Regions from separate parts of the Homo sapiens genome. Here regions 2, 3, 4, 5, 6 and 7 are each linked to region 1. The links are contacts of gene promoters, found by promoter capture Hi-C in blood cells and fetal thymus (Javierre and others, 2016). All regions are on one chromosome and are shown on one strand. The core of a region is centred on a gene start or on the middle of the fragment in contact, and the rest is flanking DNA. Distances in the headings are between cores, read along the strand shown.

The links. The method cuts DNA at HindIII sites, captures the fragments that hold promoters and counts their contacts. A CHiCAGO score of 5 or more calls a contact.
Region 2: a contact is called between a fragment that was not itself captured here and the fragment with the promoter of PRR16 in region 1, in 3 of 17 cell types (megakaryocytes, endothelial precursors and monocytes). The highest score is 8.2, in megakaryocytes.
Region 3: a fragment that was not itself captured here is called in contact with the fragment with the promoter of PRR16 in region 1 in 1 of 17 cell types (neutrophils); the score reaches 5.6 in neutrophils.
Region 4: a contact is called between a fragment that was not itself captured here and the fragment with the promoter of PRR16 in region 1, in 1 of 17 cell types (M2 macrophages). The highest score is 5.1, in M2 macrophages.
Region 5: a fragment that was not itself captured here is called in contact with the fragment with the promoter of PRR16 in region 1 in 1 of 17 cell types (neutrophils); the score reaches 5.5 in neutrophils.
Region 6: a contact is called between a fragment that was not itself captured here and the fragment with the promoter of PRR16 in region 1, in 1 of 17 cell types (neutrophils). The highest score is 5.2, in neutrophils.
Region 7: a fragment that was not itself captured here is called in contact with the fragment with the promoter of PRR16 in region 1 in 1 of 17 cell types (neutrophils); the score reaches 6.3 in neutrophils.

Annotation. Positions count from the first base shown.
Region 1 is chr5:120,462,541-120,466,627 of GRCh38, forward strand. PRR16 (proline rich 16) reads left to right here and starts at 1,760. Exons shown (of 2, transcript NM_001300783.2): 1 at 1,760-2,105. The coding sequence starts at 1,947. RefSeq lists a silencer at 1,679-1,728 and an enhancer at 2,134-2,635. The HindIII fragment of the contact is 2,017 bases long and covers 580-2,596 here.
Region 2 is chr5:119,473,015-119,477,101 of GRCh38, forward strand. It overlaps HSD17B4 (hydroxysteroid 17-beta dehydrogenase 4), which reads left to right. Exons shown (of 24, transcript NM_000414.4): 3 at 894-1,001; 4 at 1,387-1,446; 5 at 2,692-2,713; 6 at 2,810-2,856. Among named protein-coding and RNA genes, the nearest start is that of HSD17B4, 23 kb to the left of the region's middle. The HindIII fragment of the contact is 2,108 bases long and covers 1,196-3,303 here.
Region 3 is chr5:119,734,488-119,738,574 of GRCh38, forward strand. No RefSeq gene overlaps it. Among named protein-coding and RNA genes, the nearest start is that of FAM170A, 110 kb to the left of the region's middle. The HindIII fragment of the contact is 2,153 bases long and covers 675-2,827 here.
Region 4 is chr5:119,751,819-119,755,905 of GRCh38, forward strand. No RefSeq gene overlaps it. Among named protein-coding and RNA genes, the nearest start is that of FAM170A, 120 kb to the left of the region's middle. The HindIII fragment of the contact is 7,171 bases long and covers 1-4,087 here.
Region 5 is chr5:119,828,351-119,832,437 of GRCh38, forward strand. No RefSeq gene overlaps it. Among named protein-coding and RNA genes, the nearest start is that of FAM170A, 200 kb to the left of the region's middle. The HindIII fragment of the contact is 2,936 bases long and covers 673-3,608 here.
Region 6 is chr5:119,870,485-119,874,571 of GRCh38, forward strand. All of the region lies in intron 1 of LOC105379144 (a long non-coding RNA gene), which reads left to right. Among named protein-coding and RNA genes, the nearest start is that of FAM170A, 240 kb to the left of the region's middle. The HindIII fragment of the contact is 7,465 bases long and covers 1-4,087 here.
Region 7 is chr5:119,920,549-119,924,635 of GRCh38, forward strand. All of the region lies in intron 1 of LOC105379144 (a long non-coding RNA gene), which reads left to right. Among named protein-coding and RNA genes, the nearest start is that of FAM170A, 290 kb to the left of the region's middle. The HindIII fragment of the contact is 3,607 bases long and covers 1-3,578 here.

The DNA of each region.
Region 1 (4,087 bases), core at 510-3,009:
CTAAAGTCACTTAACTTTGAGTTTGGCGGCTTTCTTACACACTTGCCTACTATTAAGAGTCAAAAATAATTCCAATCTAGAAGAATAGTACTTTCTCTTTTCCCCTACCATTAGCTTTTGCTAGTTTTGACAATTTTGGGGAGTCTGTAAACCTGATATAATTATTTTAATGTTATATTTTTTATAAAATAAAGAATTTGAGGAGAAAAAGGATGTTTTAAAAATCTAATTCTCCCTACCTCAGAGAACTCAAGCATATTACTTATTTCACACTTTTAATCATTTCTTCTCTTTTTCTTTTCTCCAGTTTGCATGCTGCAGACTTGTTCTTATAATCTCTTCTTAAGTCTTTCCAGCAGCATCTGCTTTTCACCTTTTCTCATTTCTTCCCCTGATTTTTCAATGCAGTTTTCAATGGTTTTCTTTTGACACCACTTTCAAATTTCAATTTTTTCTTCTGTTCTCTTTCTTCCTCTATATTCCACATATGACTTCCAAAGGTTTTGTAAAGATGAATTGTCCAGGATTAAGAGAGTGATTGATTAAGAGCCTACAGAACTGGGAAGAGGAGAGCTGCCAAGCTTTTCTTTATGTGTAGCACAGTGGAGCTACCCAGAGTGTGAGAAGCAAGAAACAGAGAGCCTTGCTAAGGCACGACGAAAAGGGGAAGCCTATTAAAAGAATGATCTGGAGGAGTGTGCAGTGAAGAAAATAAAGTAGAGCCAGCCTGCTGGGTCAGTAGCTAATAGCCCATGGGTTTACAACTAAGGAAGTTAAAATTCTAGCTAATGAGAATTGTAGACACCTACTGAGAGTGAACCGAAGGCTTCCTATTAACTTCCCTTCTTGGGTCTTTTTGACAGAACAGTCAGAAAGTTGTTTCCTATTTGTTTAGTAGCAAAAGAGTTGAAATGGAGGTTTAAAAAATGATGAAAGAGAAGTTGGAGGCAATCTCTTACTCAGCTCCTTCACGAGGTCCAAATACGATGTCTCCCCCACTCCACTCAAAATGTAAATCAGCATAGGTCACAAAAAGAGGAAGGACAGTTAAAAAAAAAAAAAAGAGTTGGGCCAAATAAGACATACAGCCAAGATGACTGAGACAATCAGAGAGGATTTGGGGTGTGGGGACTTCAAATTAATAAATCCGGTATTAGCTTTGTGGAATTAGCAGGATTAGGGTACCTCTTTCAAGAACACTGGTTGAATTTCATGGTTTCAATAGATGACCATTAGCTGTTATGTGCACCCCCCCCCCCCTTTTTTCTTGCAGAAGTTAAGAAGTCTGCTTAACTCGCAGGTCACCAAGAGATTGATTAAAGGCCTCTGGACATCATTTGGGTTTGGATAAATCTGTAGGGCCACTTTACAGACTGTCTCCAACTCCTGATCCCACTGTGGTTCTTTCTGAATTGATCCAGGTCCCTGCTAGCAAGTGAAGCAGAAAGAATCCAGGCTAGTTGTGAGATGACATACAGCAAGCAGGCTGAGATGATGGGGACATTTCAGAACCAAGAGGAGGGGGCGGGCAGGACACGGACTTGTCTCCCCCACCTTGATGCCAAGGTGGCATCTGGGAGATATCTCGAAGGGCAACGTCGAGGGGACTGCAAGCGTCAACCCTGGCGCGGCAGCACGGCGCCCCTCTCCGCGGGCGGGGAGCGAGCGCGTGTGCGCGAGAGCGCCGGGCGGCGGCGGGAGGAGGCGCAGGCGCGCTGCTCGCCCGTCTGCAGCCCCGAGCCGAGCGCCGCGTCTCGGGAGTTGATGGCAGCACCACTGTGCGGCCGCCCGGCCGAGCGCGGAGCGCAGCCACTCGCCGCTGCCCAGGGAGCGCCCAAGATGTGGGGGGACCGGGGCGGCAGCGGCCGTAGCAGCGCCAGGGACGGGGGCACGCAGCAGCCTCCGCTCGCCCGCCTGTCCTGACCTGCCTCGCTTGCCCCCAAAGAATGTCAGCCAAGTCCAAGGGGAACCCCTCCTCGTCCTGTCCAGCCGAGGGACCGCCGGCAGCCTCCAAAACCAAGGTGAAGGAACAGATCAAGATCATCGTGGAGGATTTGGAATTAGTCCTGGGCGACCTGAAGGACGTGGCCAAGGAACTTAAGGAGGTGAGAGGCGCAGGGGTGGGGAGGGAGTTCGGCACCCTTCGACCCCTCCGGGGTCCCCTTTCCGATTTTCAGCAGGGACAGCCAGATTTCCAAACTCCTGGGAAACTACAGAAAAGGCGCCTGCAGACGGACTTTCTTTGCTCCTGGAGTCCTGAGAGGAGTTGTTGTTGCACTTTTTAATTTTTTTTTTTAATCAGGAAGAAATCAACTAGTGTTTTAATCGATGGACCTGGGCTGGTGGGAGGGATGAACGCACGCGTGTCTCTGAATCTGTGTGTGTGACGACGGGGGAGAGGGTTAGCTGGGGGTGTGTCGGCAGAGGAAGTCGTGAGCAGCCCGGCTGGAGCGTGCAAGATGCTCCTCTCCTGCCCTATTGCTTCCCCAGAGTCCTTTGGCAAGTCCGCTGCCTATCTGTCAGCCTCCCCAAGTCAGGGCTGAAGAGGGGCCGGGTTCTGGGCCCTGGGCCAGATCAGGGAGGGCAGCCTGGAGGAAGCTTGGCTCAGACTACCCTCCCTGTCTCTCGAGCCTCGCTGTAGGGAAGGCGACCCGGGCTGCTGGCAGCCTTGGGGCTAAGGAGGGGGTCTGGGACTTTCTCACTTTCTCAGTTTCTGAAGCATCCCCTGCTCTCCTCCGAACGTCGTTACCAGTAACTCTGGGCCTTCCCGCCACCCTACCTCTGCTTCCTTCCTTCCACCCTGTCGCCACTTGGCATTGAACCCGAGAAGCAGGACGCGCAGGAGAGTGTATGTGTGGCCGGGGTCTTGCCATTGGCGTCCTGGCTCTCTGCAGCTGGGACTGCTTCGGTTCTTCCCCGCTTTTCCTATCCCACTTCGGTTCAGCCCTACTCCCGCCCGCCCCTAGCCCCAGGTGATCCAGATGGAAAGAAGCAGAGAAGGTGTCAGGGCTGAGGCTGCGTAACTCAGGCGGCGGCTCCGGGCGGGGGCGGGGGCCGGGCTGGGAGGGGTGGGGTCTCCCGAGCCAGGCTGGCTGCCGGCGGCGTCGCGGAGCTGGTAGCAGAGTCCCAGCGCGCCGCTCACTACTGAATGGGGTCCTGGTGCGGTTCTCGGTGAGGGAGTCCGCAGCTCCGCTGCGTGAGAGCTAAGACTAGAACTTCGAAGGTGGCGGTGGCTGCAGCGGGAAAAGGGGTGGGGCGTAGTCTAGGTCCAAAATTGTAATCCTGTTTCTGAAGCCAACGGGGAGGAGACTGAGGGTTGTTTGGATGACTGGCCTCTAGAGATTAACCTCCTGTATTCAATTTCCAAACCAAATTTCAAGAGCCCCCTCGTCTTCCTCCCCTTCCCCCGTTACCTCTATGAACTGAACTCTGCATTTGTTACCTAATGCAAGTCTGTTAAAATGGGCCATTCGTCACCAGGGTTAAGTTTGCCAGTGGTAAATGTCGTTCCTGTAGGTTACTCCACAGACAGAACATAATTAGTACTGAGGTCCTGAGAGTGGCTGTTAGTATACATAGATTCAGGGATAAAACTTGTTCGTGTTTTCAGGGTTTCTGTAGGATTATTGCTTCACAACTGGTTGACAGATGGTGGGGTTATGCATTGAAATTCAATTCTAAAAATGCTGTCCCTTTCTTTGTTATTCTTTTATATGACATCTTTGGTAGACTGTGTTTTCATCTGAAACATGGCGTTTTAAAAAATGAAATTGGGCATGTTCCTTTCGGCAGAATTGTGCTTAATAGTTGGTGAGGTTTCTATGGGCGATGTGGAAAACCTACAGCGGCACAGAAACGTATTTACTGTTTTCATGAGGCTGAGACTAAAAGAAAGGTAGTTAAACAGAATTCTGCATCTGTGAGCCATACTTCCTTATGTTTTAATGTCAGTCCACTCACTTTTTTTGCACAGAATAAATGACAAGAAACTGCACATGGTCCTGGTTTTGCTTTGCATCATTATTTATGGACATTTAGAGATTAAGTAGTGAAATCTTCAACCTCCCTGTGGTTATTGGTTAGAATC
Region 2 (4,087 bases), core at 1,000-3,499, 990 kb before region 1:
TCATTCACCTATCCATGGACATTTAGGTTGTTTCCACATCTTAGCTATTGTGAATTGTGTTGCAGTGAACATTGGAGTGCTAATATCCTTTGTTATTTGAAGAGAATTTCAAGTCAGTTTTTCTTCTGATTTCAGTTCTTTTGGATAAAGATGTGGAAGTAGGATTGATCGATCTTATAGTAGTTTTGTTTTCCTGTGTATTTAATCTTAAAGCGATTTTCACATTTTTTCTTTTCTTTTGCTGAAAAGTGGATGAATCTTTTTTTTTTTTTTTTTTTTTTTACTTTTCTTCCCTGCTCCTTTTTTTTTTTTTTTTTTTTCCTGGAAAGGGTCTTGCTCTGTTGCCCAGGCTGGAGTGCAGTGGCATGATCATAGCTCACTGCAGCCTTGATTTCCCAGGTTCAAGCAATCCTCCCACCTCAGCCTCCCAAGTAGCTGGGACTACAGATACATGCCATAATGCCCAGCTAATTATTTTGGTTTTTAGTAGAGATGAAATCTTGCTATGTTGCCCAGGCTGGTGGTCTTAGACTCCTGAGCTCAGGTAGTCCTCCCACCTTAGCCTCTCAAAGTGGTGGAATTACGGGTATAAGCCACCATGCCCAGTCTTCTTTACTTTTTGAAAGAGGAAAAACACTGCACAGTTAAAAATTTCATGAGAACAACCTGTATTTAAATAGTTTTGCTGTTTCTTTATGTCTGTATTCAAAAATGAAGAGGAATGTTTTGAAAATGGCTGTGTTGTGTTTAGTAAGATGGGATAGGGTAGGAAGGAACTGGGCAGATGACTGAAGAGATGTGCTAGTAATTAGAATTTCATTTTCCACACACACACACACACATTTTGAAAGTCTAGAATAATTAATTGTTGTTTGCTTGTTTTTGCATTACAGTGAATGATTTGGGAGGGGACTTCAAAGGAGTTGGTAAAGGCTCCTTAGCTGCTGATAAGGTTGTTGAAGAAATAAGAAGGAGAGGTGGAAAAGCAGTGGCCAACTATGGTATGGTATTTGAGAGAACTATACTATTTATTTTCCTTCAACTAATGCTATTTGTCACATTAATAATCTTTGAGCAAATATCTCAGTATTCCAGTATAATTATGATTTTCTAAGTCTGCCAAAGTTTTCTGACTACATATTTTATATATGTGAGAATTGTTAAAACTTTTGATGTAGACTATTTCATGATTCTAAGCTTTGTTCTATTGTTTACTATTTTTATTAGTGAGCACATGATATAATTAGTAAATTATTGTAGATATGGATATGTTCTTCTGAGTTCTGTTGGGTGAATAGTATTTGTCGTGTACTCTGACCCACAGAATTTAGAAGTCCTTTGGAAGGGAGGTTGCCGAAATTTCATACAAATTTTCCTTTCCCTCAGATTCAGTGGAAGAAGGAGAGAAGGTTGTGAAGACAGCCCTGGATGCTTTTGGAAGAATAGGTGATGTTTCTTTGTGTTATGGCTCTTGTGGAGCAACTTCTACCTTCCTAATGAAATATTTTTAAGTTGACTTTCATTTACTAAACAGATACCTCTTTCCTCATAATCACATTTTAAAATTTGATTTATAAGTTAATTATTGTACTTATTTCATAAAGGGTTTAATTGAGGTGGCAATTTTATGGATATAGTGTTGAGTTTGTTTTTTTGCACCTTAAGTGCTTTAAAAAACTTACGAGCGTTTACTCAGTGCCCTTTTTAAAATAATTCAGTTAAACCTCAAAGATGTTTATAAGATTAAAAAATAAACCAATATTTTGGCAATAGAGTACCCAGTGGATTCTTTTGGATAATTATAATAATTTGGATTAAAATAATCCAATATCTTGCAAATTACTTAAGATGATTTCTCTATAATAAAAATCTTAATTTTTAAGAAGTATTTCAAATAAATTGTTGAGTTTGTTATTTCTGTAGCTAATCTTCCCAGTTTAGTCCCACACACTCTTAATAAAAGATTATTTAACTACTAGATGGAGACATCACGGAACATAAGCCCAACATGTTTACAATCTGAAAAACATTACTTATTCTTAATTGAATGTGCTCTCCCTTTTTTGTTTGGTCTATTACACTTATTTTTCTAATTTTGTTTGATTGAACTCATAAGAACCATGTTCACATATCGTCTGACAGGGATAGAAACCACAAAAATGTGAAATCATAGGGTGAAAATAGCCACAAGAGGGTTGAACCTTAAAAAATAATTATTTTCTTTCATAGTGAGAAAATAATTATGTATCAAGATAAGGCATCAGTTTGTAACTCTAATGGTTTTCTTTTTGGACTTTTTACTTTTGAGTGGCAAGGGAAAAATGTAACTTTAACTTGCTAAGTGAATTTTGAGGTTAAGTGTAGAATGGCTTATGGTTCTGATTCCTTAGAACCTAAGAGTTGTAAAATGGCTAATTCTATAATTAAGTGGATAGAATTTTGATAGAGAGGTGGGAAAATTTATAGATGTTAGTTTGAGAGGAAGGTGCTTGATATAATGTGATACTTAGGCTTTTGTGAGTCAACTTTTTTTGATATAGGTATAGACTTTTGTTTTGAAAGCACTCTTTACCTATTATATTTACTTTTTCATGGTTAAAAAACGCCAGTTTTGAGAGAAATGTGAGTTGTAAGCAAATGCAAACTAATATGCTTGCTTTTAGATGTAACTTGTATCTTTTTATATTGTAGATGTTGTGGTCAACAATGCTGGGTGAGTATTTCTTTTTCATTTTTAGTGATGTGTGTATAATTTTTTTAAAAAGTATATACTTTCCTCCTTTTACCCTATACAACATTGATTTTTTAGAATTCTGAGGGATCGTTCCTTTGCTAGGATAAGTGATGAAGACTGGGGTAAGTTGTTTTTAGTATTTCTCTGGGGAACATACTTATCCATTTAGCCTTTTTAGTATTTGATAAATTTATACATTTAAGGAAAAACCTGCTTCTATCTACTTTTGCTGCTAATATAAATGATGAGTAAACTGTATACTGAAGACAATGAATAGTTAGAAGTAGCCTCTTTTAGAAAACATTTAATACTTTTAAAAAATGTTAAATCATTTGTTTAGAAGATATCTAAAAGGATTTTATTTCTTCAGGTTTCCCTCTCCCCTTTTTTTCTCCTTAAGAGGTTGTCAGCATTTTCTAGAGGTATTAACTCTTAACAGCCTTTAACGTGCTTATCCAGCTGTGTGAATCTTTTTCAAGAACAGGAGCAGGATATTTAAGGGAGTCTAGTGCACTAAAAATGATGGAGATTTTAGAACAGGTTAGGACAAAACCTGGATATAATTTTGAAGCTTCTAGTAAATAGGAAAGTTTTCCATTCTTTCTGAATTGGAAAGATTGAGTTTAGATAATGAACAAATCACAGTTAAGAATTTTTTTTTTCTTTTGCTCCTCTTTGTGCTTACTTTCATTGGCCATCAGAACTAAAATGAACAGTGGTGGCTGAGACAGAGGGAAGCATGGCAACTGAGGTGAAACAATTGTATCATTGTTTATAGAGTGTGTTTTGGGGGAATAGTGCCTGACTGTCTTTTGGAAGAAGAGTTAGTGTCTTTGATTTAGAATTAAGCTAAGAAGAGCTTTTAGTTTCTGCTTCCCTTGTAACAACTGGGGTAAAAAAGAAGCTGAGAAAGATAGGATTTGCTGGCAAAGGGGGCCTATGTTGGTGCTTTTCTTGGTGCTGCAACGGGACTGAGGTATTTCCTTCTCTGATTCCATCCTACTAAGCCACTACTCCTGACTACCCTTCTCCCTCTCTTTCTTTTTTTTAGTTCCTTTTTTCACTCTTACATTCTTCTTCTAATATACACATGAAAACATTTGTTTTACCAAAAATAAGTAAGAATGCTTAAAAAACTTGACAATTAAAATCTAGAATTGTCTGTCTGAATGTTTCATAAGTGGTCTGTTCGTTAGATTGAAATTTGTGAAAACAGGCCTCTCACTAACTCATTTGCAAATGGTAACAATAGGGATCTAGTGAGTATTTTGTAAATATTTCTTAATGAGCTATGTGATTTATGATTATGCCTTAACTGATGTTAGTGTTGGGTGCCAGTTATATTTATAAAAA
Region 3 (4,087 bases), core at 501-3,000, 730 kb before region 1:
TTTCCTTGATTCTCAGGCCTTTGTGCTTAGACTGAACCATGCTACCAACCTCCCTGTTTCTTCAGCTTGCAGGTGACCTATTGTGGTACTTCTCAGCCTCTGTAATCACGTGAACCAATTCCCTGGAAAAGCCTCTCTTACTTATCTATCTGTCTACGTCCTATTAGTTCTGTCTCTCTGGAGAATCCTATTTATTATCAGTATGGACTCATGTATTCTTATTTTATTCAGTGGGTTATAATGTGTTATAGTTGTTATTGATTTTGGTTGCTCAAATTGTCTCTGGCTTGGCCAGAGGGAACCACTTCATGGTGCTTCATGTATCCTTTTGCCATGTCTTCATTATTATTATTATTATTTTTAAAATTATTATTATTATTTTGTTTTATTTTTAGCAGCTCCTTGCTTTCTGGCAGAAAATGCTTCAGGTTCATCTTGTGTGCATTTTCTGCTCCAGTCTTGGAATCTGCCATTTCACCTGTGAGTCCTTTTAATAGAGAATGACATTCATTTAAGGATCTAAGTATGAGGTATATTCATTGCTTCTGGGGTGTAATTGCTTCTGGACTTCTCAGCCCTTTCAGTGGACAGAGCTGGGGGAATAAATTAAGTGAGTTCCCTTGAAGCCAAATATTAAGTCTCATTTTTGGACCTGGCTTCTTTTAGGCTTTTTAAGCTTGTCTTAGGCTTGATGACACTTTTTTTTCATTTTGTCACACAGACCCCCAATATGGCTGATAGCATTTTCTTGCATATTTCTACTTCCTCATCCATCAGCATTTCATTGCCCGGGGCTTTCTCAGCCTTTCAGGATCCAGTGAAAGTTTCAAATTCTATCTTGAGAGTAGATCCTCAAAGACTCACATAGTTTCTCTGACAGGTTTCTTAAAGTCTGGACACAAACTGCCTATTCCCTTTGCATTTGTTTATTCTCTAAGAGCACATACATGTTGGTGGTGTTCACCTGAAAAATAGATAATTTTTTAACTGTGAACTTAACAGAGGAAGGAACATAATAAGTCCTGATCTGTGAAGTTTGTCATACTTAGGAAGAGAAGGGAGTCTAGAGTAGAAGAGTAAGTCATTGAATGCTCTTTCCTAATTAAGTGACCCAGAAATGCCATTATTCCCAATTCCCATTCTGGCATTGGAGAAGGGAAGAGGACTGAATGTGACTGAGTTGGGAAAATTGCACAGTGGCAAATAGCTGAGCTGGGAAACAACACACTTTGTAGTCTTTCCCCAGTTTATTTAGCTAAGCTGTCTAGAATTAAGACCCATGACCTCGGGGTATTGTAATAAGTTGGAGCTATAAACCAAACTATCTTTCTGTCCTCAATCTTACAGGCACCTATTTGGACCCATTTAAGCAAGAGCATCAAATACAACTCAGGGAAACTAGAACCTGGAGAGCACTACAACTATTTGGGGCCACAAATTAAGAGCCTATTATTATGGATGACAAGATAAAATGGGCTGCCTCAGGAGGTAAACAATTCTCTAGACGTGCTTCGTGCTTCGAGTAGACTGAATGGGCACGTGAGGGTTGTAAATGTGAGTTGGGCATTGGTTGAATGTGGGTAAAATTAGATGGCTAGGTGGCTTTTAAGGTTCTTTGCAGCTCTGAGATACTGTAGGGCTACTTCTCCATGTTGTATGTATACACAGATAATTTGCACCCTCACAGTGCACTTATTTTCTTTCTTAAATGAAAATAGATGGAAGAAACTGATTGTTTCTCCCACTCAACCCTGGATGCAGTTGAACCCTGCAGAGCATCATTTTTTTCCTGGTGGGGTATGATCTCTTTTATCAGGAAAAAAATTATGAGTACTTGATAATAGCATCAAAAGATGTACAGTTATCAAACTGTTTATACCCAAAGAGAGTTTATACCCAAAAAGAGTTTAAAATGAATTTTATTTTTAAAATTTATAAATTATAATTATGATTTGATGAGAGTAAAGATCAGGGGTTTGTTCAACAGGAACCAAAAACCAGTTTCAAGTAAGGAGAGAGATATATATATATATATATATATATATATATATATATATATATATATATATATATATATATCCCTTGGAACCCATTTCCACAGTATTGCCATGACTACATAAGGCAATGATTTTTTTTAATAGTTATTTATTATGAAAGACAAAGTTTTATCTTAGGAGGTTAGCCACACATATCAAATGCAGTTTATAAGATTCCACAGTACATTTCTAAATCATTGTATAACACATCAGAATTTCTACAGCAGCATGATTTCCTTAAGGACATAGATCCCGTAATTTTAGTAGGTACTCAATAAATAAATTTGATGTATTTTTATTTGTAAAAGAAAACATAAGGTTTGAAAATAGAGAAGCAATTCTTGTTTCTCCGAACTTCAGATGAGATGGCAGAGAATGGATTATTTCTGTAGAAATAAAGCTCCTAAGCCCTCATCAAGCCTTCATGGTTGGCAATGACAGGTATAACTTCTCCCAGGTTCCGGAGGCAGGTGTGTAGCTGCACATGACAGGAGAGCTTTTTCTCAGACAAATGCAGGAATACCAGAGATTCTTGTCAGTTTTTGAAAATTAATTCCTTTATTTGGAAAGACAGAACCACATCAGTTTAGCCATTTCGTGGAACTTGCAGGAGGCCTAGGTGAAGCTGCTCTTCTTTTTTGGTCTCAGAGATACACAATATAGCTCTCTAAAATACTTGGCTTCCTGCTAAGGCAGATTATAGTCAATAGTCCAGGAGGCATTGATGTAGAGGAAATCCCTTATATTTAATCTGCAAAGCTGAAGTTGGAATGTGATGATATTCAAGGGAAAGCTTCAGGTGAAAATGCGTGTCCTCTAGAAAAAGAAAATTACAATTATCCTCTGCACAATTAAAGGTAGTTTCTGTCATCACTACAAGCTACTACAAACTTGTGCTATTGAGCAAGGACTCTATAAAGACCCCAAATGATCATATGGAACTTGAAAATGTACACTTGCATGTGATTTGATCATAAATTAAAAAGGAAATGATGCATTAATGCTTTTTTTTTGTTTTTTGAGACAGAGTCTCACTCTGTTGCCTAGGCCGGAGTGCAGTCATGTGATCTTGGCTCACTGCAACCTCTGCCTCCTGGGTTCAAGCGATTCTTGTGCCTCAGCCTCCTGAGTAGCTGGGATTACAGGCATGCACCACCATGCCCAGCTAATTTTTGTATTTTTAGTAGAGACAGGGTTTTGCCATATTACCCAGGCTGGTCTCGAACTCCTGATCTTAGGTGATCACCCGCCTTGGCCTTCCAAAATGCTGGGATTACAGGTGTGCCACCGTGCCCAGCCAATACTTGGCTTTTTTTTTTTGTTTTAACCAAGAGAAATGTTAAGAAGTTGGTTTTAGAACAAGCCTTCTTTCTATAGGAATTCTGCTCATTGGAGACAGTGGAACAATGGATTTGTGAATGTATTAAAAGGTTGCAATGGATATATGCTATTTTTGCTTGCTGAGCATTTATCCTCACTTGATGAGAAAAAGTACATGAGTTTTCCTTTGGGGTAACAAATTCCATGGTCTCTGGCCAAGTGTCCAGATGGGGCTCTATAGCATGAAGAATGTGACAGTGATTCCCAAGGATATCATATTTGTTTCAGGAAAAGGGATCTGACTGAAGTGGGCCAATCAAAGTCAATTATTTGAGTCTTAAGGATGCTTTCTACAAGCGATGCTCTTTATTTTCTGCTGGACTTGAACATGGAAGGCATGGACTGACTATCTTACCTCTTCATAGAGCCTGAGAATAAGCCATTATATCAGAGAACAAGGCAGAGAGAAAGAAAGAGCCTGGTTTTGCTGATATAGTTTAAACCCTGGGCTCAAACCATCTATATATATATGGTTTTAAAATTCGTATAAATAAATATATATTCTCATATATATATTCATTTATGTGAATTTTTAATTTCTGTGATCAATACATCCTTTATTTGCCAAAATAGCATGAATAAGGTACATATATTATACAACAAAAGGTATTTAACTAATATGTTGATTGAATTAAAGGTGGCTCCTATTCTATGTCCTCTTTAAGACAATG
Region 4 (4,087 bases), core at 717-3,216, 710 kb before region 1:
TCCCAGGTCAGAGAACACAAGGCTTGCCACCATTTTGGAAGCAGCCCGCTGCCATCTTGGAAGCAGCCCACCACCATCTTGGAAGCAGCCCACCACCGTCTGGGGAGCTCTGGGAGCAAGGACCCTCCGGTAACATCCCCACTGGGGATGTAAATATATAAATTTATATATATATAAATAAATATATAAATTTAAATATGCTTTTTTGAGGACTTCTTGGGCTGTTACATATCTAATTTTTTTGTCAGAATAATGAAATATTGTTAGAAATTCTTCATTTTGTCCAGCCTACCAGTTGATAGAGCTGTGAGAATTGGTTCTTAGATTGAGAGATGGTAGAGTTTATGCCCCTCTTATGTTGATGAATTCAATTATGCTGCTGTCAACTTCTCAGTTACTGGTTTTTTTACCTCAGCCATAATATAGGTCATGTCTACACAGATAAACAAGTTTGAGAGATCGATCAGTCACCACAGCAATTAAGTAAAATAATTTAAAGCTGGAACTAGTTTGGAATTTTGGCCTGATGTATCCAGCAATTCAACAGATACTTAACTGGTTTGTTTATGTGGATACAACCATAGCAGCAGGCACTTTTTCTGCATGATCCTGTGCTACTAGTGACTTCAATAACTAAGATAAATGGGCCCAAAGAAGAATGAACAATGAAGAACTTTAAAACTGCTTTTAAGAATCAGGGATCTTAGCAAGATGGTGGATAGGAGGCAGGACCAGCTTGCAGCTCCAGCTCGGACAGACACGTAAACACTCATATTGTGAACTTTTGCTACAGAACTGCTGCAGGAATATACTAGGAAAGCTGAGAGAATCCACAGACCCTCTGAAGGAAGTGGATTGCTTCTGCAGGACCCAAGAAACAGCCCAAATACTGTGAGTGCCCAAACTGTGACAGTGGGAAAAGAGGATTGTCTGCCCCCAAACACACCCTCACTGGGGAACCTGGAGGTATAGATCATGGAAAATGGATTTGACCTTACCTGGATCTGAGTCAGTTTAGAGAGCTGAGAGAACTACAGGGGTGTAAGAAGCGGCGGGAAAAGCCCTGTGGTCTCTCTGGGTCCCCAGAGAAGCCATTTCTGACTTCTCTCACAGGGGTCCTTGAGGAGGGCTGCCAGAGTAACTGGGAAGAGACCACAGGGAGAAGGAAACCTCCAGCTAAACTTGGTAACAATTCCAACCAAAGGCGAAGTCTCCTGGCCAGAATTCGGGGGAGGGTGTGAATTCAATGCAGACTCAACAGGCTGGGAGGCGTGAAAGCCCTGCTTGCTTTCTCAGATGGAAAGCTGGTAGCCTGGGGCAAGTTCTCAGCCATACCCACTACTTGGAAACAAACTCAGGGGGAGCACAGTGGGAGTGAGACCAGCCTTTTGGGATGTATAGGAGCTGGGTGAGGCTTGTAACTGCTGGCTTTCCCCCACTTCCCTGACAACCTGCATGACACAGCAGAGGTAGCCATAATCCTCCTGGGAACATAACTCCATTGACCTGGAAACCACACTCCCATTCCCCACAGCAGCCATGGCCCCACCCCTTGGGCAGGAGTTGCCCAAGGAGAGTCTGAGCTCAGACAAGCCTAACCCTGCCCGCACTTGATGGTTCTTCCCTACCCACTCTGGTAGCTGAAGACAAAGAGCATAATCTGTTGGGAGTTCGAGGGCGCTGCCCACTTCCTGATTCTCCATATTCTACCATAGCTGATACTCTCTTGAAAGTACCACCTCCTGGCAGGAGGCCAACCAGCACAAAAATAGTGTATTAAACAACCAAAACTAAGGACACTCACAGAGTCCATTTCACTCCTTTTCCACCTCCACTGGAACAGTTGCTGGTATCCGTGGCCGAGAGACCTGAAGATGATTCACATCACAGGACTCTGCAGACAACTCCCAGTACCAGCCCAGAGCCTGGTAGCCCTGCTGGGTGGCTAGATGCAGAAAAGAAATAACAATTACTACAGTTCAGCTCTCAGGGAGTCACATCCTAGGAAAAGGGGGAGAGTACTACATCAAGGGAGCACCCCATGGTGAACAGCAGAACAAAAGAATGTAAACAGCAGGCTTGAGCCCCAGATCTCCCCTCAGACATAGCTTACCCCAATAAGAAGGAACCAGAAAAACAATTCTGGTAACATAACAAAACAAGGCTCTTTAGCACCCCCCACCATCAAAATCACACTAGCTCACCAGCAATGGATCCAAACCAAGAAGAAATCCTTGATTTAACCTGAAAAAGAATTCAGAAAGTCAATTATTAAGCTAATCAAGGAGGTACCAGAGAAAGGAGAAGTACAATTTAAGGAAATAAAAAAAAATGATAGAAGATATGAGGGTAGAAATCTTCAGTGAAATAGATGGCATAAATGAAAAACAGTCACAACTTCAGGAAATAAAGGACACACTTAGAGAAACGCAAAATGTTCTGGAAAGTCTCAGCAATAGAATCGAACAAGCAGAAGAAAGAACTTCAGAGCTCAAAGACAAGGTTTTTGATTTAACCCAATCCAACAAAGACAAAGAAAAAAGAACTTTAAAAAGTGAACAAAGCCCCGCAGAAGTTCGGGATTATGTTAAACAACCAAACCTAAGAATAATTGGCATTCTTGAGGAAGAAGAGAAATCTAAAAGTTGGGGAAACATATTTGGGACTTAATTAAACTAAAGACCTTTTGCATGGTGAAAGGAACAGTCAGTAGAGTAAACAGACAACCCAACGAGTGGGAGAAAATCTTCACAATCTGTACATCCAGCAAAGGACTAATATCCAGAATCTACAAGGAACTCAAGCAAATTATCAGGAAAAAAACAAACAATCCCATAAAAATAGACATGAATAGACATGAATAGACAATTCTCCAAGGAAGATATACAATGGCCAACAAACATATGAAAAAATGTTCAACATCACTAATGATCAGGGAAATGCATATCAAATCCACAATGTGATACCACCTTACTCCTGCAAGAATGGCCATAATAAAAAAAAATATAGATGTTGGCATGGGTATGGTAAACAGGAACACTTTTACACTGCTGGTGGGAACTAGTACTGAGGGAAGAGAGAGACCCTCTCATATTGTTTTATATTGTTTCATACTCAGTACCTGTTTTTTTTAAAAAAAAAAAAAACCAAGGACGTAAAACCCAAGACAGGCAGCTGGGCGCCAGGCCCGAAACCAGGTCTGGGCCTGCCTGGCCTAAACCCAGTAGTTAAAAATCAACTCATAACTTAGAAACCAATGTTATTCATAGATTCCAGACATTGTATAGAAGAACATTGTGAAACTCCCTGCCCTGTTCTGTTTCTCTCTGACCACCGGTGCATGCTGCCCCATCACGTACCGCATGCTTGCTCAAATCAATCACGACCCTTTCATGTGAAATCTTTAGTGTTGTGAGCACTTAAAAGGGACAGAAACTGTGCATTTGGGGAGCTTGGATTTTAAGGCAGTAGCTTGCTGATGCTCCCAGCTGAATAAAGCCCTTCCTTCTACAATTCAGTGTCTGAGAGGTTTTGTCTGCGGCTCGTCCTGCTACAGTACAAACACTGTGGAAAACAGTATGGAGATTCCTTGAAGAACTAAAAGTAGAACTACCATTTGACTCAGCAATCTCACTACTGGGTATGTACCCAGAGGAAAATAAGCCATTATACAAAAAACATACTTGCACACACATGTTTATAGCAGCACAATTTGCAATTGCAAAAATGTGGAACCAGCCCAAATGCCCATCAGTCAACGAGTGGATAAAGAAACTGTGGTATGTATATATCATGGAATACTACTCAGCCATAAAAGGAATGAATTAATGGCATTCACAGCAACTTGGATTATATTGGAGACTTAATCTAAGTGAAGTAACTCAGGAGTGGAAAGCTAAACATTGTATGGTCTCACTCATAAGTGGAAGCTAAGCTATGAGGACGCAAAGGCATAAGAATGACACAATGGACTTTGGAGACTTGGGGAAAAGATGGGAGGGGGTTAGGCATAAAAGACTACAAGTAGGGTGCAATGTATACTGCTCGGTGGTGGTTGCACCTAAATCTCACAAATCACCGCTAAAGA
Region 5 (4,087 bases), core at 891-3,390, 630 kb before region 1:
AAACAATATATTGCTTAATTTTAGTTGTTTTAAAATTTTTGTTTAGAGTCTTGACCTTTTGAAAGTATCAAAATCTTCCTAAGTGTTTATTGCTAAGCTAGCCGAATAGAAGGCTAATGCTCTAGGCATCTCAGTTCTATTGCTGATTCCTGTCCAAGAAAAAGAGAACTTTTACTTCTTGTTAAGGCTCACATCAAAATAGAGCTTAAGCATACATGCTTAATAAGCATTCGTGAGTGGGATAATTGTGCTGCTTTTATTGTATTTTTTTAAGCCAGGTTTATAGATGGTTTGTAAAGACAGCTAAGTCCATGTGGGCTACAAAAAACTAGTATGAATTTTATGCCTGGCATACAAATGCAGTGCTTCATCGGTTGCCCCAAATTCCATTCCTATTTATGTTATTCTCAACTACATTCAGCAACAAGGGAGGGAACTGCGGGGGAGCTAACTGCTTAGAATCTCATGAATTGTGCACTCTTCCATCCAACTTCATGGACTCACATGGGTTCTGAAAATAATAATTATGTTAACTCTGACAGTGGTTTTTTTATTTCAGAGACTCAGATTCTGGTTTTACCCATAGAAGTTGGAAGAACAAATAAAAAAGAATAGATGCTCTTAGTACATAGTGGATAGTGCAAAACGTCAACAAAATTATTGTGAATCCAAAGCTTAAAATGGCAATTAAAATAGATTGTGCCTCCTACACTCTGTTTCTGGAATAGTTTTATTTGGAATTTAAGAGGAATGTCTTGATTTAAAAATATGCTTTGGTTTTATTATTAGAATAAGAATTTTGGGAAGAATGAAAGAAAAATAAAGTAACAGACAAATTCCAATGGAGTAAGAAAGACTTTTTCTTAGGAGAAATGTTAAAATCTTAGAGGTTTGACTAGCTAGATATGACAAATTAAAGAAAATAAGCCCCAGTTTATCTACTTTTTAAAGTGGGACTGTAAAAGAGGGGATTGTTTTAGTTCTTCTAAAATTAGGGAGGGTAAATGGAGCATAGAAAAACATGGTTATAGCATAGTAGCAGGGTCAAAGAGAGTGTAGTGTAATTGTTATGTTGAGCAATCCCAGATCTAACAAGTTTTTTTTTTTTTTTTAAAAAGAACTTTTGAGTAACCTTTATTCTAAACCTAATAATGAGAAGTTTTAGGGACAGACTGACAATGTCAGGCTTTGTTTTGTTCTGTTTTCTCTTTCTATTATGTGGATCTAGAAGAAAAATAAAAGCCATTGATATAACTGACTCTACTTGAGGCTAATCCACTTTTCAATTTCATTGTAAAAGAGAAAGATTTTTAGAAACTTTACTTAGTCTATAAATATACTTGTCTATAGACACCATTATTATAGACACAGTTATAGACAGATGTTTCATATTTTGGTAGAATTTGTTTTTTTAGAGTCACCTATGAAATTGTGGGCTTAACAGACTCTTGAAAATGTTCCTCTTAAAGTTGTAGATAAGGAGTCTTTAATGAGAACTAACCACACGGCTATAGAATATCTGGACAGATGTGAAAGAGAATGATTGAAATAGCAACCTACATTAAAAGAAGTACTGATGCAAGGTGATACACCTGTTGTAAGTGGGTGGGAAGATATTGTCTCTCTCTCAAGGAGAAGAAATATAAAATAAGGGCTTTAAGGGAAGTGATAGGAGCTACTATATATTGAAAAAGAAAGAAAATAATACATCTAATTCAGCCTGTCTCTGACGAGACAGTGATTGAGATGATTCAACCCAGGAGGTGAAGGTTGAAAATATTTTTTTAAACAGTGGATGTTTTGGGCAGCACCAGAACTCACTCACTATAATGATCTCAAGATAGGGTACCCTACCAGACAAAACCTGGAGAAAATTATGTCATTGAAAACAGACAACTGAGCTTAAAAACAACGAGAAAGAGAAAGAGAAGCAGCTACTCAGGTCTTACGGATAGTTATTCCTAAGGTAGAGAAGGAAAGTAATCCATTTAAGAAGCAAGGTAAACTATTGTGAACCTACTTTGAATAAGAGAATAGCAGACAGAAATAAAGCATTAGAGACCTTTCCTGTTGCAGAAAACTATTAAGCAAAAAGAGATGTTGCTCAAAGCCTAGAACATTAGAAAGCTGAGGAAAAGAAGGGCCTGCAGAGGGTGATTCTCCAGCAGAGACCAAGACTGGGGAGAGGGGAATCTTCCCTAGCAGGCAAGTCTCATGCTCTAAGACATTCCAGAGCAAGCAGCAATAGTCCCTGTGAAACAGGCCTGCATCCTGGACAGATCTCACCCTCAACTGCTATCCTGGAATGGGGGCAGAAAATTAGGCTCAAAGGGAAAATGAAATTAACAAGTTTTAAGTATGCTGCATAGGAAAGAAAGAAACTTCAATAAGACCCGCTGACTTGGGGCCATGACTACTGCAAATTTCAAAACTTTGTCAGGAGTTTTTCCCACTCTCTGATTGAAGAGAGAGAATGCAAAAATGAACTCCTTTCCCCTTGATATTTGTTAAGCATAATTAATCTTATGGCTGACTTCACAATTCACTGATTTTGGACCCTGAACAAGTGACACTGACCAACTGGGAGTCTAGAGTAGCAGAAATTGTTTCTCTGAATTGACTCTCCTTTCATTAGATAACATTGAGCCTTTTATGGTCTTTGGGGGCAGTACATATTGGTTCCTAGTTTCTGGAGATCCTTTTCTAAAAAAATTGGAGATATTCACTTTGGAGCTGCAATTAAGTTGTTTTAAAACTAGGATTCTAATAATTTTCTGTGTTGTGTTAACTCTTTGGACTTTCTTAGTAGAGGAGCCCATGGGGAAAAGAATTTAATTTCTGATGTCTTGTACTATATATATATATATATATATATATATATATATATATATATATATATATATTTCTGAATTTAAAGCCAGGTGTCTTAACATAGAGGCTTTAATTTCTTCCTGAGAGCTTCATAAGGGAGTATATTTATATTCCCATTTGGTAATTTTTATGTTGTTGATGCTATTATTGGAGAATAATTATGCCTCTATTTGACTTCATCGTGTAACCTCTGGTGAATTATGATGGAGAGTGAGGCTGGGCACAAATTAGAATGAGAAACAGAATAGGGAGTAAAAATAGAACTTCGTATGAGGGTAGAAGTAGAACTTTGGAATAAGTTTACTTAACGTATGATTCTTTGGACACAGTGGAGCATTGGTTGGTATTTGCAGAGAAGCCTTCATAAACAGGGTTGTTCTGAAGCTCATCTCTGTCCCTGGGGATGAACTGAACCCATCATTAGCCATTTGCTTAGCTGTTAAACCAAATATGTGAAGAGAATGGAAACCAGAGGAATATGTGTACATGTGTGGGAATCTTATTTACTACTCCTCATATTTCCACAAGTAGAAAATAATATATATTCAATCTCCAAGAAGGAAAATGGGCTAAAATCCTTCTAGACTTCTCTCTACTGACTTTACTCCTAGATAAAATTCAAATGATGACTTTTGGGATTGATACATTGGGGAAAAGGTACTGAGCATGAATGGTTTTGATCTTTCTGGGTTTCCCTTTCTTTGGAGTCAACTTGACTGAAGCACACACTAGAGGGAAGCTTACCAGGGCAGATTCTGTCTCTGCAGCAGAGCAGTCAGCAGTCTTGGACGGGGTTAAATTCAGATCAAAGTGAAATGTATTAGGAGACCCATTTGGCCACTGATCCAAGCCATATTCTTCAGTTTAATGTTATCACTAATACAGTTGAATTTTTATGTTCATTTCCCTGACTTCCTATTCTGTATTTTTACTCTGGGAGGCTATAGGCACAAGAGTGATTATCACTCCTAAAACCCCAGGAGATTTAGAGAAGTACCAACTAATGAAGGAGGCACAGTGAGTGCAGGAGCAGTCAGTGAGCTGGGAGAGCCCGTCACGGGGCACCATGTATTCAAACTTAAGAGGAAGATTTGGGTCATCAAAAGCGGAATAAAAACGATGACTTGTGACTATGACCACTTTTTATTTTTTTATTTATTTTTATTTTTTGAGACGGAGTCTCACTTTGTTGCCCAGACTGGAGTGCAGTGGCGCG
Region 6 (4,087 bases), core at 966-3,465, 590 kb before region 1:
GTTTTCTTGATTTTGATTAGTTCAGTGATCCAACAAAGTTATTAGGAAGCAGAACATTTATTGGGCATCTTTACTGTAAATACAGATTAGATGTTAAATGAGTATTTCAGAGCTAGAGGCAAGGGTCTCCAGTGCCCCTTCTTATCTATACCCCATGTTCCTCTAGATAGTTGCAACTTTCAGACTATTTGAAATAGAAACAGTACAACTTTAAAGTCAAGAGACTTAGGCTGAGACAGCTACTTTCTAATTCCCCCGTAAAAACTTGACACCGCACCAGATTTCCAATAATTTTCTTTACGCTGATTCCTTGAAAAAGCAACTCTCCTGTGAATGTTAATGTGGTTACTTGTCTGTCTTATGATTGTTTTCCCGTGTATTGAAAAAAATCCAATTTAGTGCCAACCATTAATCATATCTTAGGCTATTTGTACCTGAACATGAAAGGTGTACATCTTAAGAAAATCCTTCATGATTACAGTGAAACACAGACAAAAAGCCATGGTGTTAATATGATCAAGGACTTTTTGACTATAAATTTTGAGATCAAAGTTATTGTATACGACCCTTCAGAAAGCTACATGGTCTCTGAGCACTCTAGCTAATGAACAATTCTACGGTGATATTATGCTGTGTGTGTTTAATAGCATCTAACTTCTTGTTACTTTGGCATATTATTAAAGGTTCCTAGAGACATGCCAACAGTGAAAATGCCACTTTATCATTCTGTATTTTTTCCTCCCTCTACCGTTAAAATAAATTATAAATATACATATAGCTTTTATGGTTATGATACTAACTCATCTTTTAAACAATTCTTCTGTTGTAATTTATAATAGCAAATTGTATGTTTGCAAACTCTGTTGCCTACCTTTGCTGCTAAGAGGAATTCAGATAATAAACTTTATAAATACAGCAGTGTCCTATTATCTTTAGGGGAGATGTTCCAAGACTCCCAGTGGATGTCTGAAATTGAAGATAATACCGAACCCAATTGCCCTCAGTCAGAACAGGATTCTGTTCATGTTTTCCGCTCACAAATTTAATGACTTTTTCATCGTAAATAAGCACTTATGCACTGTGGGCATTTTGCAGTTTGAAGTGCAACAGCAAAACTAGCACAGATTTTATTTTTCCTTTTCACAATTTCATGGATAGAAGGTTTGTTCTTATTGTACATCTTAGCAACCTTGGCATACGATTTTTCTTTTCTTTCCTTATTAAGTTGAGAACTTTCAGTTTTCACTTAAAGGAAACACCTTATGGCTTCTCTTTGGCATAGCCAAAATGCCAGCATCATTATTCTTACACTTTGGGGCCATTTTTGAGTGAAATAAGGGTTACTTGAATGGCAGCTTTGCAACATCGTGTCGATCTGATAACCACAATGGCTACTAAAGGGCAAAGAGCATCTACAGCATGGATCCGCTGGACAAAAGGATGCATGAAGCGGGACAGAGTGAAGTTTTATCATGCTACTCAGAACAGTATGCAATTTAAAACTTATGAATTATTTCTGGAATTTTCTGTTTAATATTTTCATACTGTGGTTGGCGGCAAGACCACTGTATAAGCAATTTTAGTATGTATTATTTCTGTGGTTATATATGAAAATAAAGCATGCTGTCTTTTATATTCAAAGGAGTCGTTTGTTTAGTTTAACTTAACTAAATTTGCAAAACGCTTTCTATATGTAGGTACTATGAGGACACCGGAAATACTAAGACAGTAAAACCTAGTTCTTGTAAATGGCCATTTTTCTCCCTGTGTTTTTCCTTGATCCTTCTCTGTGCATATCTACATCCCAATCTCCTCTTAATAGGAAGACAGTTATATTGGATTGGGGCCCACCCTGATGTCTTTATTTTAAGTTACCTTTTTTAAAGACCATATCTCCAAATACAGTTATATTCTTATGTACTGAGAGTCATAACTTCAACATGTGAACTTTTGAGCGGACATAATTCAGTTATAACATTCATAGTTCTATCACGTCTAAAGTCTTCTATTCTGATACACCAAACACTCACTGCCAACTTCTATCTCTTCAGTTCTATCACGAAACGTCATGAAGCTCTCCAATGTTGAACTGCTTGTTCTCCAGAGCCATCAATTCTTCATGGCTTTATATATTCTGTACCCACCTGACCTCCATAATGACTTTAACCACTAAAATGACAAGAGCTGTAACATTAAGTTCCAAAGTCTTTTCCAACTACCTACCCTGTACATTATTCACTGAGTCACAAATTGGCTTGAAGAAATCACCCAAATATAAAAGTTAGTGCTGCTGTCAATTCACAGCCTTAGTTGTAAATATCCAAATTCATTCTATCTCAGTAGGCAACTTTGCCTTTTTACATTATTTTTCCAAGAGATGGGGTCTTGCACTGTTGCCAAGGGTTGGTCTCAAACTCCTGTGCTCAAGTGATCCTCTCACCTCAGCCTCTTGAATTGCTGGGATTCCAGGCATGTGCCAATGTGCCTGTCTATCTATGCCTCTCTTTAAAATAGAAAATGGGTTGTTGAGTTCCTTAACTTCCTTTCTTTATATGCATATTTCCTTATGTTGCAGAACATTTATTTCTGTAAATAAAATTTATTCATTTATATTTACTCTTATCTCTTACCTCTAAATGCAAAAGAAGACTGTACACTTTACTTTAAAATTTTTTTATTCCCTTCCTATTCTTTCTTTAGCCTTTTCTTTATCAATTAATTACTCATTTAGCTTTTGTTTTCCTACTAATTCTTTTTTTATCAGTATAGAAAGATACCTGACTAGTATAGTCATGTATTGCTTAATGAAAGAGATCTGTTCTGGGAAAGGTATTGTTAGGTAATTTTGTCATTGTGTGAACATCATAGAATATACTTTCAAAAATCTAGATACTATAGCCTACTATACACCCAGGCTATATGGTATAACCTCTTGCTTCTAGGCTACAAACCTGTATAGCATGTTACTATATTGAATACTATAGGCAACTGTAACACAATGGTAAGTATTTGTGTATCTCAACATATCTAAACATAGAAAAGGTACAGTGGGAATATGAAATAAAAGATAAAAAATGGTACACCTACATAGAGCACTTACCATTACAGGTAGTTGGAAAGGCAATGAGCAGGTCAGGGGAGGGCTTTCCCCACACCCACTAGAAATGTCAGGTGCTGGTTTGGCAATTATCACATTGCCTCTCTAACAAGAGTAATTCGGCAGCCAAGGAAAGATAATCTCCTGATGGTCTACACTTGTTAACATTAAAAATGCTAATTGAAAGCAGACCTTAGGGAGAAGCAACTTCCTGGGCATGCCTGTTAAGAGACAAAAATGGTGAAGTATGATCTTCCCGGTCACACTCCACCGGAAAAGTGAAGAAAGCCTCAGAGAGGCATGCATATAAAACTCCCTGAACACACTGTGCTGTGCGTGCTCAATTTCCAAAGGTAAGGAGGGCACTGCGCTATGCAGAAAGCCCATCCTCAGGGAAGAATCATGGGAAAGAAGGGAGATACAAAGTGCTAGGATCAAGGTTAAAGGTGCTTTTTCTCTGCCCATTTTTTCTCTTGGACCTTCAGACGCCCACTTGGATCTCCTCGCAGGGTGCTTTCCTTTCTCTCCTGTTTAAAGACTTTTAAATAAACTTCCACTTCTTCTCTGAAACTTGCCTCAGACTCTTTTTCTTCTCTATGCCCCTCAGTCGAATTCTTTCTTTCTTTTTTTTTTTTTTTGAGATGGAGGCTTGCTCTGTTGCCCAGGCTAGAGTGCAGTGGTGTGATCTTGGCTCACTGCAACCTCCACCTCCCGGGTTCAAGTGATTCTCCTGCCTCAGCCTCCCAAGTAGCTGGGATTACAGGTGCCCGCCACTGGGCCTGGCTAATTTTTGTATTGTTAGTAGAGACGGGAGTTCACCATGATGTCCAGGCTGGTCTCGAACTCCTGACCTCGTGATCCACCCACCTCGGCCTCCCAAAGTGCTGGGATTACAGGCGTGAGCCACCGTGCTGGCCGAATTTGTTCTTTTGAGGAGGCAAGGATGGAAGTTGCTGTGGACCCGGAAGAATATACCGCTGGTAACTTGGG
Region 7 (4,087 bases), core at 525-3,024, 540 kb before region 1:
GAGGCCTTTGGGCAGAGACTGTGGGGTTTGCTATGTAGGGAAAAATATCATTCATGAAGAGAGATAGTTTGACTTTCTCTCTTCATATTTGGATGCCTTTTATTTCTTTCTCTTGCCTGATTGCTCTGGCTAGAACTTCCGAAACTAAGTTGAACAGGAGTAATGAAGAGTGGTCATCCTTGTCTGGTTCTGGTTCTCAAGAGGAATGTTTCAGCTTTTGGTTATTCAGTATGATGTTGGCTGTGGGTTTGTCATAGATGGTTCTTTTTATTTTGAGGTATGTTCCTTTGATGCTAGTTTGTTGAGGGTTTTTAAAATGAAGGGATGTTGAATTTTATCAAAAGGCTTTTCTGTGTCTGTTATAATGATCATGCTTTTAGTTTTGTTTATGTGATGAATCACATTCATTGATTTGCTTATACTGAACCAATATTGCATCCCAGAGATAAAGCCTACTTGATCACGGAAGATTAGCTTTTTGATGTGCTGGCGGATTTGGTTTACTAATATTTTGAGCATTTTCACATCTGTGTTCATCAGGAATATTGGCCTGAAGCGTTTTTTTTTTTCATTGTGTCTCTGCCAGATTTTGGTATCTAGATGATGCTGACCTCTTAGAATGAGTTATCGAGGGGTCCCTCCTCCTTGATCTTTTGGAATAGTTTCATTAGGACTGGTACCAGCTCTTCTTAATACATATGGTATAATGTGGCTGTGACTCCATCTGGTCCAGGGCTTTTTCTGGTTGGTAGGGTTTTTTTTTTTTATTACTGATCAAATTTCAGAACTCATTATTGGTCTGTTCAGGAATTCAATTTCTTCCTGGTTCAATCTTGGGAGGTTGTAGTTTTCAGGAAATTATCCATTTCTTCCAGGTTTTTTAGTTCATGTGTGTAGAGATGTTCATAATATTCTTTGAGGGTTTTTTGTATTTCAATGGGACTGGTGGTAAGGTCCCCTTTGTCATTTCTGATTGTGTTGATTTGAATCTTCTCTCATTTTTATTTGCTAGTTTATTTAGTGGTCTTTCAATCTTAGTTCTTCATTGATATTTTGTACAGTGTTTCTTTTCTTCATCTTGTGAGCTCAGTTCTGATTTTGGTTATTTCTTTTCTTCTGTTAGCTTTGGGGTTGGTTTGCTTTTGTTTTTCTTGTACCTATAGGTGTGATGTTAGGTTGTTAATTTGAGATCTTCCTAACTTTTTGATGTGGGCATTTACTGCTGTAACTTTCCTCTTAACACTGCTTCAGCTGTGTCTCAGAGATTCTGGAATGCTGCATCTTTGTTCTCATTAGTTTCAAAGAATTCCTTGATTTCTGTCTTAATTTTATTTTTTACCCAAAAGTCTTTCAGGAGCAGGTTGTTTAATTTGCATGTAATTGTATGGTTTTGAGAGATCTTCTTAGTATTCATTTCTATTTTTACTGTGCTTTGGTCTGAGAGTATGGTTGGTATGATTTCATTTTTTTAAAATTTGTTGAGAATTGCTTTATGGCTGAGGGTGTGGTCGATTTTAAAGTATGTGCCATGTGCACACGAGAAGAAGGTATATTCTGTTGTTTTTGGGTGGGGTTTTTGGTAGATGTTTGTTAGGTTCATTTGGTCAAGTGTCAAATTTAATTCCTGAATACCTTTGTTAGTTTTCTGTCTCAATGATCTAATACTGTCAGTGGGGTGTTAAAGTCTCCCACTATTACTGTGTGATTATGTAAGAATTTGTTTTATGTGCTTCAGTGTTGGATGCATATATATTTAGGATAGTTAAGTCTTGTTGAATTGAACCCTTTATTGTTATGTAATGTCCTTCTTTATCCTTTTTGATTATTGTTGCTTAAAAGTCTCTTTTGTCTGAAATAAAAATAGGAATCCCTGTTCTTTTTTGTTTTCCTTTTGATAGGTTTTTCTCCATCTCTTTACTTTGAAGCTATGGGTGTTATTGCATATGAGATGGGTCTTTTGAAGATAGCATGGAGTTGGGTCTTGCTTCTTTATCCAACTTGCCACTCTATACCTTTTAAGTGGGGTGTTTAGTCCATTTACATGCAAGTTTAATATTGATATGTGTGGAATGATCCTCTGTCATTGTATTATTAGCTGGTTGTTATGTAGACTTCATGGTGTAGTTGCTTTAAAGTGTCAATAGTTTATGTACGTAAGCGTGTTTTTGTGGTGCTGCTAATGTTCTTTCATTTCCATGTTTAGCACTCCCTTAAGGACCCCTTGTAAGGCAGGTCTGGTGGTAACAAATTCCCTTAGCATTTGCTTGTCTGAAAATGATTTTATTTCTGCTTTACTTATGAAGCTAAGTTTGGCTGGATAATTCTTGGTTGGAAGTTCTTTTCTTTAAAGATGCTAAATATAAGCCCCAATCTCTTCTGGCTTCTAGGCTTTCTGCTGAAATGTTCACTGTTAGCCTGATGTGGTTCTCTTTGTAGGTAACCTGCCCCTTCTCGCTAGTTGTCCTTAATATTTTTTCTTTAGCATTGACTTTGGAGAATCTTATGACTGTGTGTCTTGGATTTCGTTTTCTTGGATAGTGTCTCACAGGGTATCTCTGAATTTCCTTAATTTGACTGTCAACCTCTCTAGTGAAGTTGTGGAATGTTTCATGGACAATATTCTCAAATTTGTTTTCAAAGTTACTTGCTCTCTCTCTCCCTCTCATGTATGGATTCCAATGAGTTGTAGATTTGATCTCTACATAATCCCATATTTTTTGGAAGTTTTGTTCATTCTTTTTTCTTGATTTTTCTCTGACTTAGTTCAGATATCCAGTCTTCAAGCTCTGAGGTTCTTTTCTCCATTTGGTTTATTACACTGTTAATACTTCCAATTGTGTTATGAAATTCTTGTAGTGAGTTTTTCAGCTTGATCAGATCAGTTTGGCTCTTTCTTAATATGTCTATTTCATCTTTCAGCTCTTGTATCACTTTAGTTAATTTGTTAGATTTCTTGAAGTGGGTTTCAACTTTCTCCTGAATGTCTATGATCTTCTTTGCCATCCGGATTCTGAATTCTATGCATGTTATTCCAGCCATTTTAGTCTAGTTAAGAACCATTGCTAAGGAGCTAGTGCAGTTTTTGGCAATAAGACATTTTGAGTTGCCAGAGTTCTGATATCGGTTCTTTCTCGTCTGTGGGGGCTGATACTCCTTTAATCTTTGAAGTTGCTTTCCTTTGGATGGGGTTTTATTGCTTTTATATTCTTTAATGCCCTTGAGGATCTGACTGTCGGTTCAGTCAACTAGTTTAGTTTTGATAATTTCAGTGGACCAAGGCTCAGCTTGTTGCTCCTGAGTTGCCTGCTGTAATGCTGGGGGGCTGGGACCAGGCCCAGCGCTTTGTTCTCTGGCCCTCGAGGTTAAGCCGCTGCTTTGCTAGAGGGGCCAAGATGTAACTGGTCCACTGTCAACACTCTGATGGGGGTGCTGGAAAAAGTACTTTATCAGAGTGGTGGCAGTGGGGACCATGCTTGGGCACACATGACAGCAGCAGGAGGAAATGTTGTTTTTTAAATTTTTATTTCATTCATTTAAGAGAATGTTAAGGGGTCATAAATGAATTTATTAGCTATAGAAGCTTAATTTCACATTATTCATTTTAATAATATTCTGTATTTCACAGATTAATATATAATTTAACTTTTGAAAATGTTATCTATGTCTCTAATTGTGTTTTACTGCATACAACTTATGAAATTACTTTCTAGTGTTACAATAATTGGCATTAAATATTGCTAAAAAGTATCAGGAGTTCTATAAACTTGAAGAAGATTTCTTTGATATATCATTTTTATATGCTATTGGAAGTCTCGTGAAATGTTAATACTTGATAAATTATTACTATATATAAAGTATATTTCAGAAGGCTGAAAATATTTATGTGGTAACTAAAGGCACATTTCAATTTGACAAGATTGGAATTTGTTGTCTAGAACACTATATATTGCCCTAACATCTCAATTAGCCTACCTAGTGAACACATTTGCTATTGTAGTGAGCAAGCAGGGATTTTTCTGTGTGGTTTTGTTGTCTTTCAATACTTCATTTTAATCAGAGCTGAATTAGAGAACTGGGAATGTCAGAC